Linked DNA regions of Homo sapiens: region 2 is linked to region 1. Evidence: promoter capture Hi-C in 16 types of primary human blood cells and fetal thymus (Javierre and others, 2016). All regions are on one chromosome and are shown on one strand. The core of a region is centred on a gene start or on the middle of the fragment in contact, and the rest is flanking DNA. Distances in the headings are between cores, read along the strand shown.

Region 1 (2,700 bases), core at 1-2,500:
TTGCTCAAGATCTGTCCCCTAATGGCTTCCACCCTCTTCTTCTTGATGTGGCCGAAGTCCAAGGTGGTGCAAGTGGACAGAGAGAGGCTGACCGTGGCAAAGTTCAGCAGGGCCAGGACCACCAGAGCCCTTTGCAAGTGCATCTTCATGTGTGAGCTGGGAAGAGAGGCCAGGGGGACGGCAAGGCCTGGAGAGGAAGAGACCCCAGCAGACGTGCAGAAGGAGGGAGGAAAACCAGGCGGCCTCCCCAGATCCCAAAGACTGAGGCTTGGCAAGAAGGTGCATGAACTCACTGCACTGCGAGAGCTTCAGGACTTCCAGGAAGCGCTGGCAACCCTGAGGACGAAGAAGCGGACTGTGTGCCTTGTAGCGCTGGGATTCTTGTCCATGTGTCTAAACAGGTTTTGCTGGGCTCTGACTCCCAGCAGGCCAGGTGGAGGGCAAGCAGAGGGCTGGGAGGGGTGGCAAGGCAGCTGGGAGTGGGAAGGGAGCTGGAGTTTTTCCTTAGGTAAAAATAAATAGAGTGGATATCTGATATTGCCAAACGCCGCTTGGCGATGGGGAGAAAGTGGGTATTTTAAAGAAGAAGCAGAAGGACCATGGCTGGGTCCCAAAATCAAAATCCTTGCCTTGCCTTGAAAGAAAATAAGAAAAGAGAATGGAAAAGAAAAGGGAAAAAAAAGTAAAAAAAAAAAGATCACCAGTGAGTAGGTGGGGAGAAGCAGGGCCGGGCAGTTGCTGGCCCAGCTAAAGGTGGGGGCAGTACAGGACACACTTGTCTCTCAGGCACTCCATTCATGCTTTCTCTTTTGTTTACACTTCCTCGGGGGCTTTCTAAATGACTTTGTTCACGCTGCCTCTCGTCTTCATTGGCTGGGGTGTGGGGTTATATGCATTGGAAGGCAGGGAGGCAGGCCTCTGAGCGCAGCAGCCCCAATCATCCACTCAGACGCCCAGGGTCACCAGCACCTCGGCTTGTCTTCTGCCTCGGCCATTGCTTCTGTCCCCTGCTTCTCTTTAAAAAATAAAAAGGAGAAAAAAATAAAATAAAATAGAAGCCAGTTCACGGCACGCCTGCTCCGGAAAGCTGTTATTCCTTCTCTCGCACGCCTCTTCCCCTGTCTCTGCCTCTCTCGCTCATTCCCTTGGACTTGACTCTCTGCTTCCCTCCCTTTCTCTCTCTCCCTCTCCCTCTCCCTCTCGCTCCTCTCCCTCTCTCTCTCACACACACACACATGCACACACACTGCTTTCTCTATTTCTCTCTGCTGAAATTTTATACCTCCCTCCCATGACGTCTCTGGCCTGGGGTGGGGGAGGGAGGGACCAGCGCACGCAGCCTCTTTTGCTGCACGATGTTAATGTTTTAAACAGGCACAGGAAAAGCCGAGCCCTTTTGAAAAATACTTTGCGAGTCCTCTCGTTCGACGTGGTAGCTGAACTTTTTTTCCCCTCTTGGAATCACTCCTGCCACACGTTGGCTGTTTTTCTGGAAAGTTACTCCGATGAGCCCCCTCCCTCCCTTTCCCCCAGCCCCGGCGCCCTCTCGCCAGCTGTCAGTCCGCGCCGTCCGCGGCCCGCGTCTACTCTCCCTCCTGGTCCCCCGGTCCCGGGGCCGCCCGCGGGCCAGGCCCAACCCGGGGCAGGGTCCGCAGAGGGCGCGGGACCCGGTAGGGGCGGCCATGCCAGCCTCGCAGAGGGGACTCCCAGCCTGCGAGCCGGGTCGGAGGGTCGGCGTCCGCTCCGCGGCGATCCTGGCCCGATTCTTCATTGACAAGATCGGAGTCGGGAGGCGGGCAGAAGCCTGGAGACGCTCCAGGGGCAGTGAAAAATGGTGGCGTTTTCCGGAAGATCGAGGGTGCCCTCTGGCGAGGCGAGGCCGCCAGTGAAGGAGCTCGGCTGGTCGGGAGCCGGGGAGGCTCGGGGGCTGGGGGCTGCGGGGTGGGGGCTGAGGGGCGGGAGAAGGGGCTGCGGTAGAGAGCGAGAAAAACAAGACCCAGGCCCCGAGGAATCGCCTCCCTCCCGGCCCGACGTGCGCACGAGCGCACCTCTCCCTCCCCGACCGCCGCTCCGGAGCCGCTCTCGCAGAAATGTCATCCAGATGTTCAGCCTCCCTCCCCGCCGAGGTCTCCGCAGGGAGCTGCGCCAGCGAGCGCGAAGTCAGCAGTTGGCCCGAGCCCATTTCCCAGATGGGTGAGGGGAAGTCGGCTCTGTGCTTTCGCTCCTCTTCTCGGCCCGAACCTCTAGGCCTTTTCCCACGAGCAGCCAAGGGAGGGTAGGGCACGTGGCTCCCCGCACCCCGCAACACAGGGCTTGCCTCTGAACTGAACTTTCCTGAGAGTGAGTGCCGCTCCCACCCCATCTCACTCCAGCCTTCCTGGACCCTTTCTGAGAGGTCTGGCTTCCAGGCCACTAACTGAAGGGGCTGTTCTCTGTATCCCAGCACAGCGGTGGGTCACTTTACGGATGAGGAAACTGAGGCATAGAGTTTTTTGTTTTTTTTTTTACAGACCACACTGCTTGTGAGTGATGGAGGCGATATTTTACACAGGCTATCTAGCTTGGGTAGGCATTACTTTCATTTGCAAAACCAATGGGAAACCTAGGGGTAGAAACTTTAAAAGTAACTTGCCCAAGGTCACATAGTTATTAGGTGTCAGCTGTTGGGATTTGGACCCAGGACGTTGCCAGATTCTGGAC
Region 2 (2,724 bases), core at 146-2,645, 71 kb before region 1:
CAGTATGTGTTTTGCTGGCATTGACCTGGCTGTAGCCACACAAGAAGGATGTGGATCCCTCTACATGGCAGAATCACCTGGCTGTCAGCCATTGAAGTGCATGCGTTCCTGTCCTGAGGCCTCTTGCATTTCATTTAGTAACTGTTTCTACATTCAGAAACAAAACCCAAGTATAGCTGAACAACCTGGTTGGAAGTGAGGAAGAAGACAGCCTGGCTTTTAGTTTGGGGGAGAGAATAGGGGTACTTCTAAGAATCTATCCAAAAGGGGTTCATTGGCCTTGAAGAAAACCAGAGAACTCCATTTCTAAAATGGATTAAGAGATAGGCTATGGAGGAAGATAACATCTGAAAATTGATATTTTTTTCTTGCTGAACTGGCAAAATCCCAAGAGAGGAGTGATGATTCTTCAGTTATTAACAATTACTACTTTGTTATAAAGAGACACGGGAAGTACAGTGGCCCCTTTCTCAAATTACACTTACATTACAGAAGCACACACACCTCTTGGAAAAAAATGCCTGGCAGCCTGGATTGTTAGAATTGTGCCTACTCCTACATCTTGCTGCAGAGTTGTGTGGTCCTGTGTAATATCCATGCACTTTGGACAGAAGACGATCTAGTCTATTCTTGCAGTCCTGAACTGGGCAAGTAACCAGCATAAGGCTGCCCTTCTTTCTGTCTTTATATATATCACTCCAGGTTATCGATCTGTTCACTGTGGTTATCCATCCTGTGAACCCACACATCTTATAGCCACATACCTTTGCTTTATTGTCCTCATATCCTCAGGGCATAATTGCTCCTGAAAGTTCTAAAGAAAGAAAATGACATGCTAAGCCACGCCTGTCTTTGGAAAAAGCAAGCTTTCCACACGGAAATATTTACACCTCTGCTTACCTGATCTGTAGAGTTTGAACCAGGTCCCAAAAAGTGTAGGTAGATAATAGCAGGGCTTGGAGAATGATGACTTGAAGTGTATTGCCCTGTTGGCATGATTTGTATTGATTTTTATCCTGTATTCTTTCAAATTGTGATTATAAAGAAAAAGACTCAGATTCTCTTAAGTCCTCAAAATGAAGAGCATTACTAAAACTAAAACAGTAGTCTCTTATACTTCTTTGTTCTCGTCTTTTGAACATGCAGGTATTTCCAGTTTGCACCATAGATGTCAAGGGGCTCCCTTCTCTTAAAACTTGAATGCAGGGTTTTTTTGTTGTTGGGGGGTGGGTGGTTGGTTGCTTTTGTTTTTGTTTTTGTTTTTTTGAGTCAGAGTCTCGCTCTGTCACCCAGCCAGACTGGAGTGCAGCGGCATGATCTCAGCTCACTGCAACTTCCGCCTCCCAGGTCCAAACAACTCTCGAGCCTTCGCCTCCCGAGTAGCTGGGATTACCGGCATGCGCCACCATGCATGGCTAATTTTTTTTTTTAATTTTTAGTAGAGACAGTGTTTCACCATGTTGGCCCGGCTGGCCTCGAACTCCTGACCTCAAGCGATTTGCCCACCTTGGCCTCCCAAAGTGCTAGGATTACAGGCATGAGCCACCGCGCCCAGTCTGGTTATGCAGTTAGTTGATACCAGAGAGGAGTAGCTTGAATGTGTGGACTTGCCTTCGCTATAATAAAACATAGCCTCTATCCCCATTATAAAATGGGGAAAGAAGTTAGAAAACCAACCTGATTTTAAGATGATGAGGTGAAGAAAAAGCAGCTGCTTAGAAGTTGCTGTATGTATCATTTAGTTGTTTGGTGTTGGTTAGAAGAATCACTCTTATTTTAATATCTAATGAACTGAAAAGTGAGAGTGAGGTATTTTCCTTCCCTTTTTATTTATTTGTAATTTGATTCCCAGGGAAATTAAGACTTGTGACAAGCCCAAATGAAGATATTTTGGAATTTGACAGGAGAGTTTTTTAACTTATGCCTAAGCTTCAAATTATATTAGGCAATAAATTATTGATAGTTTTTAATCAGATACTGGAATATGGAATTTTCAAAATCACAACTCAGAAAAATGACCGCTCACAGGCCTTCTGTTTTATATTTATTCTTCCTTTTTAGTATTCTCCAAAATTAATCATCATCGTACATGTGTACATTTATTCTTATTATTACCACAAGAGCCTTCTGATGATCGAGAGGAGAGAGACCCTCAGTTCACCTCTGGAAGGGAAGTTGTTGTACATGAGCACAGGGAGGAATCAGTCTCAAGAGCCAGACCTCCTGAAAACCTGCAGCGTTGCTGAGAGAATCAGCAGCTTTACTGGCTGAACAGCAGCTCGGGTTAGCCCATCCCGTGGCCAGGTCATTTGCTGGCTCCTCCGCAGCCAGCTTCCATTGTTGTCTAGGCTGACAGCTCCGCCCTACTCATGACGTGACTCTCTCTATGGGATTGTTTCTCTCCTTTTTTTTTTTTACATTCAGTTTTCAGAAGACAGAATGGAATACTTCTCATTCATTCCTCCAGCAAAGTGCCCCTGGTGGGCAGAGCTCTCTCTCCCAGGCCTTAACTGGCCTAAATAAAGTGGGTGGCAGCTGCCTTCCAGACAGATGCCAGCCTGGTACTAGGGTAGTATGATTGTGTGATACAAAGCTGCCAATGTATGCATGTCTGACCATTTTTTCAGATGGGATTGTAGCTAGGCAGGTACAGCATAGCCTTTTCATGTCCAGCATAGGGTCTTAAAATATAAAACCACATGCAATAAAATAACAAGGTATAAA

Evidence for each region. Contacts are between HindIII fragments. The CHiCAGO score rates a contact against its expected background, and 5 or more counts as called.
Region 2: a contact is called between a fragment that was not itself captured here and the fragment with the promoter of TGFB3 in region 1, in 2 of 17 cell types (naive B cells and total B cells). The highest score is 8.2, in naive B cells.

The regions. Positions count from the first base shown.
Region 1 is chr14:75,980,745-75,983,444 of GRCh38, forward strand. TGFB3 (transforming growth factor beta 3) reads right to left here and starts at 1,251. Exons shown (of 7, transcript NM_003239.5): 1 at 1-1,251. The coding sequence starts at 149. RefSeq lists silencers at 1,556-1,795, 1,926-2,045 and an enhancer at 1,826-1,885. The HindIII fragment of the contact is 14,571 bases long and covers 1-2,700 here.
Region 2 is chr14:75,909,776-75,912,499 of GRCh38, forward strand. The region is part of intron 31 of TTLL5 (tubulin tyrosine ligase like 5); the gene reads left to right. Among named protein-coding and RNA genes, the nearest start is that of TGFB3, 71 kb to the right of the region's middle. The HindIII fragment of the contact is 1,063 bases long and covers 865-1,927 here.